Linked DNA regions of Homo sapiens: regions 2 and 3 are each linked to region 1. Evidence: promoter capture Hi-C in 16 types of primary human blood cells and fetal thymus (Javierre and others, 2016). All regions are on one chromosome and are shown on one strand. Each heading gives the region's core, a stretch centred on a gene start or on the middle of the fragment in contact. The rest is flanking DNA. Distances are from core to core; before and after follow the strand shown. Region 1 holds the start of RBMS2 (RNA binding motif single stranded interacting protein 2). Region 2 holds the start of DNAJC14 (DnaJ heat shock protein family (Hsp40) member C14). Region 3 overlaps NEMP1 (nuclear envelope integral membrane protein 1).

Evidence for each region. The method cuts DNA at HindIII sites, captures the fragments that hold promoters and counts their contacts. A CHiCAGO score of 5 or more calls a contact.
Region 2: the fragment with the promoter of DNAJC14 here is called in contact with the fragment with the promoter of RBMS2 in region 1 in 1 of 17 cell types (naive CD8 T cells); the score reaches 5.6 in naive CD8 T cells.
Region 3: a contact is called between a fragment that was not itself captured here and the fragment with the promoter of RBMS2 in region 1, in 1 of 17 cell types (total B cells). The highest score is 5.3, in total B cells.

The regions. Positions count from the first base shown.
Region 1 is chr12:56,519,363-56,524,468 of GRCh38, reverse strand. It overlaps RBMS2 (RNA binding motif single stranded interacting protein 2), which reads right to left and starts at 2,649. Exons shown (of 14, transcript NM_002898.4): 1 at 2,380-2,649. The coding sequence starts at 2,445. RefSeq lists an enhancer at 1,471-2,214. The HindIII fragment of the contact is 765 bases long and covers 2,138-2,902 here.
Region 2 is chr12:55,827,233-55,832,338 of GRCh38, reverse strand. DNAJC14 (DnaJ heat shock protein family (Hsp40) member C14) reads left to right here and starts at 2,752. Exons shown (of 7, transcript NM_032364.6): 1 at 2,752-2,850; 2 at 3,625-5,087. The coding sequence starts at 3,681. It also overlaps the pseudogene TMEM198B. RefSeq lists enhancers at 1,285-1,484, 1,439-2,176 and a silencer at 2,705-2,814. The HindIII fragment of the contact is 16,581 bases long and covers 1-5,106 here.
Region 3 is chr12:57,057,291-57,062,396 of GRCh38, reverse strand. NEMP1 (nuclear envelope integral membrane protein 1) reads left to right here. Exons shown (of 9, transcript NM_001130963.2): 8 at 1,452-1,625; 9 at 2,338-5,106. The coding sequence ends at 2,518. Among named protein-coding and RNA genes, the nearest start is that of MYO1A, 9.7 kb to the right of the region's middle. The HindIII fragment of the contact is 1,220 bases long and covers 1,965-3,184 here.

The sequences.
Region 1 (5,106 bases), core at 1,400-3,899:
TCCAGCCTGGGTGACAGAGCGAGACTCCATCTCAAAAAAAAAAAAAGTAAAAATAAAAATATGAAAACCCTCCACGTTCACAAACTTATATAGGCACAAAAGGAGTCATATGCATGGCCACAGAGTGATGCACAGATACAGCATCCTTACATCTGATCATAACATTGACTTATAAGAACCCAAAGAATTGACAAATACATTAGTAATTAGTAATTATGTATCTACCTATCCTCCCCAACCAATTCCAACAATTCCTGAATTGTCAAACCTTACTAAGAGATTTCAACCCAAACCCACAACCATACCTCTTGTCCCCTATACTATCCTAGATTTAGAAGCTAATTAACTTTTTCCTATACTCCAAGGTGGGAGAGGGAGCAGAGAGCAAAAAGAGATTTTTAGATAGCTTCAAATACGTGAAACCTCTAATAGGGAAGCAATTCATTTTGGGAATTCATTTTATTTTAATGAGTTCTGGGTAACCTGAGAGAACTAGGAGGGAAAAAAATCAGGAAAGAAATTTTCACATGGTACTCTACAAGGTTTGAAAAGAATAAAGACATGTGAAATATTTCCCTTTCAAATATATACGTATAATATATAATGTATTATCTATACATATATTTGATAAAGGGATGTCAGTATATGTACATATAAACATATATTGATAACCAACAAATGTGTATAAACTCATATTTCATTTCTTTTTGAGATGGAGTCTTGCTCTGTCACCCAGGCTGGAGTGCAGTGGCACAATCCTGGCTCATTGCAACCTCTGTCCCCCAGGTTCAAGTGATTCTCCTGCTTCAGCCTCCTGAGTAGCTGGGATTACAGGCGCGTGCCACCAAGCCCAGCTAATTTGGGGTTTCACCATGTTGACCAGGCTGGTCTCGAACTCCTGACCTCAAGTGATCCACCCACCTTGGCCTCCCAAGTGCTGGGATTACAGGCATAAGCCACCATGCCCAGCCTCATTTCTTTTTTAAAGTAAATTTTATTGTGTATATTTAAGGTATACAACATGTTACGGGATACATATAGATAGTAGAAAGGTTACTATAGTGAAGTAAATTAATCATCCCACATAATTGTCCCTTTTGTTTCTTTTTGTGGCAAGAGGAGCTAAAGTCTGCTCATTTAGCATGAATCCCATATACAGTACAACTTTATCATCTATAGTCCTCATGTTGTACATTGGATCTCAGGATTTGTTCATCCTACATATCTACTACTTTGTATCCTCTGACCTATAGCTCCCCATTTCCTCTCCCCTCTACCCATATTTCTTCAGGATATAAACAAAATGAGTACCACACAGACTAAGCCCATAAATCAACATTAAGTGTTTTGGGTCTAAACATTTACCCACTGCATTGATCAGACACTTGTGTTTAAATCCACCTCTAATGGTCTCATTAGGTACATGAGAAAGCAGCAGGAATCGTTCCTCACCCTCCAACATTCCATTAGATGAGCAAAAGATTCCCTAAATGTCTATGTCACATTTTTTCTTCAAAGAACAGCTACAACACAAAGAGAGGGTAAAGAGTCTTCTTCCTGCTACAGCATGAAATTCCTCCTAATCAGTATGCTGTGCGCCCTGAAATGCCAGAAACTGCCAAATATATTCCTTGTCAAATATGGACAAGATTGTCCATCTCTCCCCATGTGCCCAAGGACAGCACAATTCTCTGGCAGCCATGGGTTAATCATAAAGACTCCTAGGATCACTGCAAAGTCTGGCTATCTGCAGAGGTCCAAGTATCAGTTCAAATACAAGATCCAAAGTATCACAGCGCTCTGTGCCTTAATCCCAAGGTGCGATGTCTCTCAAGACTCCTTCTCTATAGGCTGGGTGGGGTAGGATCTGTAGTCTAGAAGAGTATACCCAGCTCTTGATAAACTGTTGTGGTTTCTCTGACTATCTATGATTTCAGCTATCTAATACTACTGGTGGTATGGGTAGGAGGGAAGGTTGGGGAGAGAATGGAAACAGTTAATCAAAAAATAAAATAATCTTGTGGGGTGGGGTGGACTGGGGGACAGGGTCTGAAATGACATATTATCCTTGTGGAGATTGATACATCAGCAGGAAGTCAAACTAACTTCATTTCATAAGGATACAAACTTGCAAGCTTGATTTGTTTTTAATTCCCCTGTCTTTTCAGGCCTCGCAGAGACTGAAAGTTCCCTGAACTCCAGAACCAGTTGAGGAAAGATGCAGAAAGCAGTAGTGGAAAAGGGAGAAGCGCGGTGAGGAATTAGGAATCTTGAGAGAGGAAGCCCCTTCCCCTCTTTAAAAAGAATGTAAAAACCAAGGGCATTGCAAGATCCCCAGAAAAAGAAGTAGCTAGATACCAAAAAAGCGCTTTTCCCTACCTTCTTGTTGTTTCTATTGTAGCCAAAAGTCGAAATCCCGGGCCTGGAAGTCACGGATAGCAGCATTTTCTCTTTAATGTTAGGGAACGAGCGAGAGAGAGAGAGAGAGAGAAAGGGAGGGGGTAAGAAAGACGGGGAGGGAGGGAGGAGGGGAGCGAGGGAAAGGGGGAGAGGGAGGGAGGAAAAAAGGGAGGGGGAGGAGAAAGGAGGAGAAAAGGAGCAGGAGGAGAGAGATGAAGGGGGGCTGCGGGCAGAGAATGAGCTCGGGCTGCTCCTTTACGTCACTGAGAGAAGTTAACAGAGTCTGAATGAGGCAGAGGCACTTCCACTGGGTCCTAATGCCCAAGATGTTTTTTTTTGTTTGTTTTTCATAGTCTCAGGAGTTAAAGCTAGAAAGAAGAGTTCTTAGGTCTAACCCCTTTCAAATTTATCCCCTTTCCTCTATGAACAAGTTCCGATTCTCATATAAAGACAATGAGGGCTTTATTTCCACCCTTAGATCTCAGCTATAAGATTTCAAGCTTGATTTTAAAGGGGCTCCTGAGACATTGCCTTGGAGAACACGCAAAAAAAAAAAAAAAAAAAAACAGAGTTAGAGTGTGTGAGATAAGCTCAGGGCTTCCCCTACTTTACACTTACAGTGATTTTTTTTTTTTTTTTTTGAGACAGAGTTTTAGTCTGTCACCCAGGCTGAAGTGCAGTGGTGCAATCCCGGATCCGGCTCACTGCAACCTCCACCTTCCGCAATTCTCCTGCCTCAGCCTCTCGAGTAGCTGGGATTACAGGTGACCACCACCACACCCAGCTGATTTTTGTATTTTTTAGTAGGGACGGGGTTTCGCCATCTTGGCCAGGCTGGTCTCGAACTCCTGACCTCAAGTGATCCACCCACTCAACCTCCCAAAGTGCTGGGATTACAGGCATGAGCCACCACCCCTGGCCCATTTATAGTGATCTTAATGTACAAAGGAACAAACAGAGGAACACACCAAAGAGCAGAGCTAAGCAAAACAGAGTATGGGGTATAACTAGTTTCAGATCCTTAGATGTGTTTCTCTTGGGTCATACCAATGGGCTGATGCCCCTCACTCCTATTTCAGATTCTCCGAGGAATGAGTTCATACTTAAGAAGGAATTATCAGACTGGACTATATCATGAAACTTGGTGCCTTGTTATTTCTCTAACAATTGCAGGCTATCTTATTTAACACTTTACCCTGCTATTTCCTCATCTTTAAGATCCATGAAACTGAAACAATTACAGTAACTCACCAAACCTGGAGTTTATGTCTAAATTGAAGTCTACAGTTGGGATGTCTGCTTTGAGTTGTCTTTGAGCTGTTTAAAAAAAAAAAATACTTAAGAAGCATATGCTTCAACAGAATAAAAACACAAAATTCTTAGGAAGGAATACAAATTTCAGAGTCAAGAACCTAATAGAGTTGCAACACTTACCTCTACTAGTTTCCAAAGAATGTCTTTGTAGGCGTAACCTTAACAAGAAAGGAAACCAAAAACTTAAGAATGATATCCAGTAACCCCTACCAATCCAAGTGCAATAGGGATGTTAAATGAAAGCCTTCAAATCCCTTCATAAGGCCACCTTGCTGCCATCCTAAGTAGTTTCTTGAGATATAAATTAACCCTGTCTGTTTTGTGACAACAAATATTAAGCCCAAACCCTCCCTCAAATGAAGTTCTGGTCTCTATTCTAGTTTCCGTGTCACTTTTTTGCTATGATAATGGAACAGACAGTATTAGTATTCTGCAGAGTAAATATACATACCCTACCCCCAATCTCTAACTTTCATTTCCAATAGGACAGGAAGTGCCTGCTCAGCTCAGGGGACACAGGAAGGGTGGGAGAGCCTCAGTGTGGGAATTGCAACTGAGACTGGAAACACAGCAGCCAAATGCAGTAAATAAATAAATGAAGGCATCACTCAGTGATATCTTTTTTTTTTTCTGAGACAGAGTCTTGCTCTGTTGCCCAGGCTAGAGTGCAGTGGTGCTATCTTGGCTCACCGCAACCTCTGCGTCCCGGGTTCAAGCGATTCTCCTGCCTCAGCCTCCCGAGTAGCTGAGACTATAGGCATGCGCCACCATGCCCGGCTAATTTTTTTGTATTTTTAGTAGTCTTGTTGGCCAGACTGGTCTCAAACTCCCGACCTCAGGTGATCTGCCCGCCTTGGCCTCCCAAAGTGCTGGGATTACAGGAGTGAGCCACCGCGCCCGGCCCATATATATATATATATATATTTTTTTAAGTCCTTTTTCTGCTCTCAGAGACTCTCATTAACCAATTTATCCTTGCTGTTTAGGCCCTTGGATGATATCTTCTCCTTTACCCTAACAATGTGGTACAGAAACCTTTCTCTTGAAGGCCTGATTCATAAAGGCAATCAACCCAATTTAACTTTTTTTTTAAGTCTAATTTTTCTTTCTACTTTTTTTTTTTCCCCCTGAGACAGAGTCTCACTCTGTCGCCAGGCTGGAGTGCAGTGGTGCAATCTTGGCTCACTGAAACCTCTGCCTCCCGGGTTCAAACGATTCTCCCGCCTTAGCCTCCTGAGTAGCTGGTACTACAGGCATGTGCCACGACGCCCAGCTAATTTTTGTATTTTTAGTGGAGACGGGGTTTCACCATGTTGGCCAGTCTGGTCTCGAACTCCTGACCTCAGGCAATCCACCCGCCTTGGCCTCCCAAAGTGCTGGGATTACAGGTGT
Region 2 (5,106 bases), core at 1,503-4,002, 690 kb after region 1:
CTCACTGAAGCAGCAGTAGATGATTCCAAAGCAGCAGCAAAGGGCACACACCAGGGCAAGTGCCAGTTCAGGATTGTCCTGGGGTTCCAAAACACATCTTGGGTCTGGAGGCTCTGGGAGTTGTTGATTAAAGGGCCTGGGGTCAGATGTCACAGCCAGGGGCAGCAAGACTTCCTCCATGGCCAAAGAGAAAGTGGTCACAGAGCGGGAGGTGTCAGCTCCTCTCACCCATCCATGAATGTCTTTAGGGGATTGGGAAACCTGCAGCGGGGCACGGGGCAGAAACTCAGGTGCCCATAAATCTTGAGGACTCTGTACCTCTATTTCTTTTAAATAATGGTGCCCATTTCAGGAGCCAGTATGACCCTGTTGAGGTAACTGAAGAAATCTACAGGATTGGATTGAGAGGAGCAGGATCTGTCTTTACCACTCTCTGAAACAAGTACACTTAAGTAAAATGTAAAATGAAATCTTATAAAGTAATGAAAATCTTATAAAGTAATGAGCCTTTGCCTCCCCCCACCACCCTGCAGCTCTTCAGGGTGAGGGTGGAAAGAACAGGAAGCCCTGGGTGTGTGGAGGGAGGGGTGCTGGGACATTATTGCCCCATCTGCGACTGGGACTTAATACTACCCCACTGGATTGGGAAGGGTGAGGTTAATAGAGAGGGGAGAGGGAGGGAGAACAGGAGAGTATGAGTCATGGTGGGGGTCTCTGGACAGCTGCTCCAGGCCCAGGGCAGAAAGAGGGAAAAAACCAGACACCAAGAGTTTGGGAGGAGGAATTAAGTAGAGACAGTCACCCACAGTTTGTCAGGGTTTTAAAGCCTCAGCTTCATGCTGAGATGGAGTTGTTGGAGGAAGAGGCATCCAGCCACAGTCCTAATCCCACAGCCCCTCATGGAATAAGCAGGGACTTTGCCCACAGACATCTCACATCCTGGTAGCCACTCGCACCTCCCCTTAGGATATTGGTGGGACTTTTCCTACCTCACCCTTCCCCCAGCGGTATCAGGGCTGCCAATGGGATTTGAATTCAAATCCTGAAAGGAGAACACCAAGGAGGAGCTGGCATTTCGGGCACTGTGGGAATGAAGTGGCAAAAATGCAGGCACATTACTTTCTTCAGCTGTCCTTTGGATATCAAGGTCCTTACAGGCTGGAGGGTTGACTCTCGGAGCTCCTCTCCTCAATCTGCTTGGAAGTCTGGGGACCCTGGACAAGCGGGGGTTGGGGAGGGGATGTTAACTACTCACCATCCTGCCAGGATTGAGGAGAGGAGGGGGTGGAAGTGCTTCCCTAGACCTCCAGATGCATCCCTGCTCGGAGGTCCTAGACGCCGGGGGTGCGGCTGTCGGTCAAGAGCACCCCCAGGGTCACTCTGTTGCTGCCTAAACTCTTTCAAGTCGCAGCCCAGGCTCTGTGAGCTAAATGCAACTAGCTTGCAGGGTGGAGAAAGGGGACAGGGCGTGTGTGTTGGGGTGTGTGTTTGTGTTTGTGTGTGTGCGCGCGCGCGTGCGCGCGGTGGGGGGAGGAGGGGTGACATCACAAGGCAGGCCCCTCCAATTCTTTCCCGTGTGTGTGGGGGGACCCAGGTTGCCTACTGCTCTAGTCCAGGACCAGAGACCCCCAACTATATAGCAGGTAAGAGTCTTGAGGGTCACCCCAAGAGTTTTGGAGAAGGGTCTCCGAATACTTAGGAGATGACAACCGGAAGCTCTCAAAGCCCCAATAGGGGTCCCAGCGCCCCCCTAGCTTCAGCTTGGTTTCTTCCACTTTCCAGAGAATTGGAGTATTGTCTCCTGGAGAACCGGGTGGTCGGGATCGTGGACCAGGGAAGGGGCTTTTGCTGGTCGGGGAGCGCCAACTGGGGGTTCATGGGTGGAAAAACTTTCGGATCAAGACGGGGTATAAGGCTAGAGGCGTGTGCAGAGGAGGGGACCGACGGAACGGGGACCCAACTGGGTCTACGTGGGGGCGGGGGCGCTTGTGGACGTCCACCAAATAGCTTGGTATGCAGATGAGATGTCAAGCAGCAGGTAGATGAGTTCAGTGTTCTTTGGCTCACGGGCAAAGTTCTGAGCCGAGCCAAGTTACGCTCCCAGTTCCTAGGCACCGCTCGGTGATCGGGCCTGGGGAGCTGCGACCCGAGGGGCGGATCCAGGTATAAGGGGCAGCTCGCCAGCTGGGTCAAGCGCGGGGGAGGCCGTGGGTTGCTGTGAAAGGAGGGGCAGTGCTGCGGGGCGAGGGAGGGGGCCAGCCGGGGCACCCTCTCCTCTGCTCCACCTCCGCACCGCAGGATACAAAGGGGCCTGTGTCCTCGCAGCTGCCGGCACGGAAGGGATCAGGGCAGTGACTCTTCTGAGCTCCCTGGTTTTGTCTGCAAGGGAAAAAGACTATATGTGGCTCGGTGGCTGCCCTCCATCTCCCAGGAATACAAAGCCTAGGAATACACCCAGAGCAATCCTGAGAGTCTGCCCTTAGTCTGCAGGCATTGGTGCAGAGTCCACCTGCCTTGCTTCCTGCGGTGCAACCTGCGGGAATCCCATTCCCACACGCGGAGGGAGGGGCCTTTAAATGGCGGGGCCAGTACTTCCTTAGGACCGCCTCCTTGGAGTCGACGCAGCCCTAGCTGGATTGGCTTGCCTCTCAGCCAACCGCTATTTCTTTTCCTTCCCGTCTCTTCCCTGGTGACCCCGGAAGTGGAAGTAGGCCCAGGTCGCCGGCGGCCGCGGGGACGGAAGGCGGAAGCAGAGCGTGAGCGGGAGGCGGAGCCGGGAGAGCGGCTCTCGTAGCTCACCCTGGCCCCAGGCCGGGCGGCTCGAGGGGGAGGAGTTACCGCCGTTCTTCGGTACGTCCGTCTTTTTTTTTTTTTTCGTTTTTTTTTGTTTTTTTGAGATGGAGTCTCGCTCTGTCACCCAGACTGGAGTACAGTGGCACGATCTCGGTTCACTGCAACCTCCACCTCCCGGGTTCAAGCGATTCTTCTGCCTCAGCCTCCCGAGTAGCTGGGACTACAGGTGCGCGCCACCACGCCTGGCGAATTTCTGTATTTTTAGTAGAGACGGAGTTTCACCATGTTGGCCAGGCTGGTCTCGAACTCCTGACCTCGTGATCCGCCGGCCTCGGCCTCCCAAAGTGCTGGGATTACAGGCGTGAGCCACGGTGCCCGGCCACCTTCGTCCCTTCTACACAGCCGGTGGGTTCCCTGTTAGTCTTTCTTAGGGGCAGCCCTAAGCTCCGCCCCCAGATTTTCCTCCAGGGCCGCATGGCCCCCACCCATTACTGGAAGTCTGTGGCCCCCTTTCCGGCGGTCTTTCCCATTTTCCTAAGAGTGACCCACCCTCCCCCGACCACACCCTTTACGGTACCTCCCTGTTTCCCTGATTGAAGGTTATAGTTTTCTGGGGAAAGAAGAAAAACTTAAGTGATTTGGAGGAGAGGGGAGGGAGCAAGCAGGGTTGTGGTGAGTCTAGTTTTGGCTTATTGCTAGGAATAGCGAATGCCCCAAAAGAACTTGGGAAAACAAGGGAGGTGGATGAATTAAATGTGTCCACTATTTGAGATTGTTTAATTCCTCTCTTGGTCTCATCCTTGACTGTCTCCACCTTGATATCTGTTACAGGCATCAGAACACACCATGATGGCTGTGACCTAAGACCCTCAGGAAGCCCCGGGGTCATGGCCCAGAAGCACCCCGGAGAAAGAGGGTTGTATGGAGCCCACCACAGTGGTGGTGCCTCCCTCAGGACTTTAGGACCCTCCGTGGACCCTGAAATACCTTCATTCTCAGGACTCAGGGACTCAGCAGGGACTGCTCCTAATGGTACCCGCTGCCTCACAGAGCACTCTGGTCCTAAGCACACACAGCACCCAAACCCAGCCCATTGGTTGGACCCAAGCCATGGCCCCCCAGGGGGTCCAGGACCACCTAGAGATGCAGAGGACCCTGATCAGAGTGAGACGTCTTCAGAAGAAGAATCAGGAGTGGACCAGGAACTCTCAAAAGAAAACGAGACTGGGAACCAGAAGGATGGGAACTCTTTTCTTTCCATTCCATCTGCTTGCAACTGCCAGGGAACACCTGGAATTCCAGAAGGGCCTTACTCTGAGGGAGGAAATGGTTCTTCTAGCAACTTTTGCCACCACTGTACCTCTCCAGCTTTGGGGGAAGATGAGTTGGAAGAGGAATATGATGATGAAGAATCTCTCAAGTTCCCCAGTGATTTTTCACGTGTGTCCAGCGGAAAGAAACCCCCATCCCGGAGACAGCGGCACCGCTTTCCAACGAAGGAGGATACTCGGGAGGGTGGACGTAGGGATCCCAGGTCCCCTGGTCGACATCGGCTGGGTCGGAAACGAAGTCAGGCAGATAAGCGCAAAGGCCTGGGATTGTGGGGAGCCGAGGAACTATGTCAACTTGGACAGGCAGGCTTTTGGTGGCTGATTGAACTGCTGGTATTGGTGGGAGAGTACGTAGAAACTTGTGGCCATCTCATCTATGCCTGCAGGCAACTGAAAAGCAGTGATTTGGACCTTTTTCGAGTTTGGATGGGAGTGTGGACAGGGCGGTTAGGGGGCTGGGCCCAGGTCATGTTTCAGTTTCTAAGCCAGGGGTTTTACTGTGGAGTAGGACTGTTTACTCGTTTTCTTAAGCTGCTGGGTGCTTTGCTGCTCCTGGCTCTGGCCCTCTTTTTGGGCTTTCTACAGTTGGGATGGCGGTTTCTGGTGGGACTAGGTGACCGGTTAGGCTGGAGGGATAAGGCTACCTGGCTCTTCTCTTGGCTGGATTCTCCAGCCTTGCAGCGTTGCTTGACTCTGCTGAGAGATAGCAGGCCATGGCAGCGGCTGGTAAGAATAGTTCAGTGGGGCTGGCTGGAGTTGCCTTGGGTCAAGCAGAATATTAATAGGCAGGGGAATGCACCTGTAGCTAGTGGGCGCTACTGCCAGCCTGAAGAGGAAGTGGCTCGACTCTTGACCATGGCTGGGGTTCCTGAGGATGAGCTAAACCCTTTCCATGTACTGGGGGTTGAGGCCACAGCATCAGATGTTGAACTGAAGAAGGCCTATAGACAGCTGGCAGTGATGGTGAGTACCCTTCTGTTTC
Region 3 (5,106 bases), core at 1,325-3,824, 540 kb before region 1:
GTGATTCTTCTGCCTCAGCCTCCCGAATAGTTGGGACTACGGGTGGGCGCCACTATGCCTGGCTAATTTTTGTATTTTTAATAGAGATGTGGTTTCACCATGTTGGCCAGGGTGGTCTCAAACTCCTGACCTCAGGTGATTTGCCCACCTCAGCCCCACAAAGTGCTAGGATTATAGGCGTGAGCCACCTCACCCAGCCCATTTCAGACTATTTCTCAGTGGCTTTCAGATTGCTCTGGAGGTCTTAGTCTTATTTTAAGATGTAATTCATAGCATGTTTTGTCACCTTGCATAATAAATATGGAATGTTACTAGGTCCTGAAGTTGTCTATTATAGATAGTCAAGGTGATGCTTTCAGTTTGGGAAACCAAGTTACTGGACCACAATCTTTTTTTTTTGAGATGGAGTCTTGCTCTGTCACCAGGCTGGAGTGCAGTGGTGCTATCTCAGCTCACCGCAACCTCTGCCTCCTGGGTTTAAGCGATTCTCCTGCCTCAGCCTCCTGAGTAGCTGGGGTTACAGGTACATGCCACCATGCCCAGCTAATTTTTGCATTTTTATAGTAGAGATGGCGTTTCACTATGTTGGCCAGGATAGTCTCAATCTTGACCTTGTGATCTGCCCACCTTGGCCTCCCAAAGTGCTGGGATTACAGGTGTGAGCCACCTTGCCCGGCGTTTTTTTTTGTTTTTTTTTTTTTTTGAGATGGAGTTTTGCTCTTGTTGCCCAGGCTGGAGTGCAATGGCATGATCTCGGCTCACTGCAACCTCCGCCTCCCTGGTTCAAGCGATTGTCCTGCCTCAGCCTCCCGAATAGCTGGGATTACAGGTATGCACCACCATGCCTGGCTAATTTTGTATTTTTAGTAGAGATGGGGTTCCTCTGTGTTGGTCAGGTTGATCTCCAACTCCTGACCTCAGGTGATCTGCCTGCCTTGGCCTCCCAAAGTGCTGGGATTATAGGCGTGAGCCACTGTGCCTGGCTAGAACCACAGTCTTATACCATGATTTTCTGTTATTTTCCCATCTACTAGAAAATAAGTAAGTATTTTATCATTTATTGGAAAATAAAGTGAGTTTGTTCACATTAGTGAATAATATTGACTATAATTTTTTACTTTCTATAGGCATTTTTATATTTTTATTCTAGTCATTTTATATAAAATAAAAAGGTCTAGTAAAATGTCATGTGTTCCTGTTACCACAAGGTGGTGCAAATTATATCACTTTTTTTTTGAGATGGAGTCTCGCTCTGTCGCCTATGAATTGTCACTCATAGTCTAATGTATCAGGAGTTCATTATAACTAAAGATGTCCATGGAATTTTTAGGAGTGATGACTCTTAATGTTCAGGCTGTCTGCTGTATTCTTGGCCCACTGAAGGGAGCTAGAAGTAAGGATGGATATAGATTACTGATTAATGATTCATAATGTTATTTTGGTGAGCACAGAAAGGTGTGTAAGGGAGCAGAAAAGCCTGTTCCCCCTCGTCTCCTGACAGAAGAAGAATATCGGATACAAGGAGAGGTAGAAACCCGAAAGGCTTTAGAGGAGCTCCGAGAATTTTGTAACAGTCCAGACTGCTCTGCTTGGAAGACTGTTTCTCGAATCCAGTCTCCAAAAAGGTAAACTCGGCCAGATATACCAAGCATCTATCAGGGTAATTGTGACCTTGAGTTCTACCAGAGATCATACTTCTAGAGAATCGTGCACTTGTGACCTTTGTTTTCCTGTTAATCTTCAAGTAGTCAAGAGAAGGGTGGATATATAATCACACATTAAGCAGTAACCTGTTTCCTCAGGGAACTATCTACTCTAGCTTTGATTGTAGCATTAAGATGGGAAGACTCCAGTACCATATTAAGTTTCCCTTCTGAAAGTTTTGCATTGCTGTCTGAGTTGGTAGGGTTCCCCCCTACCCACTTTTTAGTTGGGGGCAAATGTACCAATGAGTATGTGAAGCTTCAATTTGGAATCATGATGGCATAAAGTTTACAGGGCCATAAACGTGAATAACTGTAATGCCCCTTAATCTTCTCTTATCAGGATTACAGATGACTAAAGGAACCTTGGCACTTTCATAATTAGAAAGGATAGGCAAGTGCTTATTAAGCAGGATGGAGTTGCAGGGGTATTAGCCTATGATCCCAGCTTTCCTTTTCTCCTTAACTTCATGCTTTAGTCTACTTACCTGCCAGAGTAAGGACAAGGATGTTGGCTAGACTTAATATAATTTGAGTTGCGAGCATATCGAGGGCTTTAATTTGTTCTTATTTTGAAAGAAGACCAGAAAGGACAGAAGGATATTTCTAACGAGTATTATCTTCTCTTTTCCAGATTTGCTGACTTTGTGGAAGGCTCTTCCCACCTCACGCCAAATGAAGTTTCTGTCCATGAGCAGGAGTATGGATTAGGGAGCATTATTGCCCAGGATGAAATCTATGAGGAAGCATCCTCTGAGGAGGAGGACTCATATTCTCGGTGTCCTGCTATCACACAGAACAACTTTCTAACCTAGGTAGTGGTCAGTTATCTTTACGTGGACTGGCTTGGTGCCTTGGTCCATGTTGCATGTGTTGTGCAATTGCTTTCAACCCTTTGAAACAGAGTGAGATAGATAGGGTAGAAATTCTCCTACTGAAATAAGAGGCCTAAAAAGGCCTCCCTTTGGAAATGGGAGGTCTCTATGGGATCCCTGAGGAAGGAGAGTGGATAAAGTAGTGAATGCTGGGTAGTTCACTTCCCATTGGTTAAGCTAACAGCCCACTTTTATGTTTCCAGAGAAATTGGATGGCCACAGCTAGCATGGCATTCTAGCTCCTTCTTGAAAGTTGATTCAATCATGGCATTTCTGTCACTGGCTGGCTCTCCAAAGTAAGAACTGTTGTTAAGTGCAGGAATGCTTTTAGACTATAGGCTGCAACTTCCAGAGAGAAATCCACAAATCTGAGCCTCCTTCACTCCAGCTTTTATTTCAGTGACTTTAGAATAATTATTGATTTAACTGTTTTGGGAGGAAAATAGATTTTTATTGTTTTGTTTTTTAAATGAATGTCTTTTAAAAAACATAACAAACTCATGTTCCAGAACCAGCAAGTGCTCCAGAGTGACACACCCCCTAGGCCCCTACATATTTATTAATATGGATTATCCATTAAAGCCCCAGGAGCTGTTGTTTTAAGCTTTGATTTAGTTCTCATACATATGATAGAAAGTCCTATTTGCCTTTAGGAACATGCCTGTAGGCTCTTCTGCAGGTGAGATGTACTGGGCTTTTTATTATATTCAACTTTCAATTCCATCTTAAAAAACATTTGTATTCTTCTCTTCCCATTCTTCCTTACCCTGCCTTTGCCCTTTCAGGAAGGGTCAGTTCCCTTACCTGTGAACTATGTATGTTCAGAGTAGCATTATTCCTGCTAGCTAGGAGAAGTCATCTTGTTTAGGGGATTTGGATGCTTTTTATACGTTCTCCATTTTCCTGTCATTGGGTCATGTTATCTTTGAGTTGCTATGAAATCAGGAAACTGTCTCCTTTTCCTTTCCCTTCCTTTGTCTACATGCTCTGTCCATTCCTTTCAGCCTTTTCTCACCACCCATACTCCCCCAAATCTGGGTAATTTTTAAGCCTTGAAACTATGTAGTTTCTTGATACACAATTTGTAGTTATGCAGCAGCCACAATTTGCATTGCCAGGAAATAGGCTCCAGGTTATCTTCATGCCTCTGGGTGCTCATTCAGCTGTCAAGTTTCCATGAACTTACACTTATTTATGATTGCGTTTCTGACCTGAGATGTATGCTGCCTGTTATTGCAGTAGCATTAGTTTCAGATTCTTTTGCCATTGCAAAGTACCCCTTATAAACCAGCAATGTCATCTGTGAGGAAGCAAATTCTCAAGTGTCTGTCATTTACTTGGTTCTTTTTCTTTGTGGTCTTCACCCTTATACCCTGGAAAAGTCTGTAATTACCTTAGCCAGGAAGATAGATGGTCATGGCAAGCGCACAGCACCAGACTTACTGGCTCACCAAGATGATGGAAAAAGGCAGATGATTTTTTAAAAAGCCGTAATGACTCCTTTAGACCAGCCATTTAGCGTGGTAATTTTGAAAGGCCTAGCTCCATTGCAGACTTCCAAAGGGTCAGCTCTGAGACTGCCCTCCAGGTGGGCAGTTGATTATTTCCACCAGTGTTTTCCAGAGCCTTAAACTGTCCTAAGTGACAACTACCTCAGTTGGCAGGAAAGAGACATATAGTAGAAAGTGAAAAATGAGCAGTATTTGGGCAGATGCTATGGGTTACAGTTGAAGGGTAAAAGGAACTTTACATTGGGAAACCTTTATACCCTTGTGAATTATGTACATGGTAAAATGTTCTCTCTCTACAAAGAACTATTAAAACTTCTGAAATATACTATTTTTTACCTTATTTATAGAAATTGAGACCTAGCATATTTAAGCATAAGTTTATTTTAAAAAATAATTCAACTCGTGCAAGTGGTCTCAGGATTCTCTGGAGATTTTGGTGCCTCCCCTACTTAGGGAGGTGATAGCTTGCCTATAAGGGTGACTTTTCCTGATCATGTCTTTATTTCAATGAGAAAGCACTGTGAAATTGTGAAAGATTCTCCTCTTTCTCTGTTTAATAAACCCCCATGAAATATAGTTTCCATCTCTAGACCAGTTTTTTTTCCACCGTGTTTAGACTTGAGGTGAATAAAATCAAACTGTTTTTTACTCCCTATCTGGTAGTTGGAGACCTGAGCTGTAGGCAGTGGAGATGGCAATTGGTTCTGCAGCCTGAGAGTTGCTCTCACACAGTGAAGGACGGTGCTGCTCTGGTGTGCTGTGTGTCCTTGCCCTGCCTGCCTGTGGCTCTGCCCAGATGCTTCAGATCCTCTGTGTTCCGGAGATTGCTTGACTTCAACCTTCTTTAGGAGCTGCTCTTGTCTCCCTCTTGGCCACTTAGTTTGCTGGCTCAGTCACTACTTGAAGACCCCATTTAATTTTTCTCTGGCAGTTATAGCTCTTGTGATTTCAGTACAGTCTCATCTCTCAGACCAATCTCATCAAGAAGGATTGAAGGGATAACTATGAGGTAAGCTG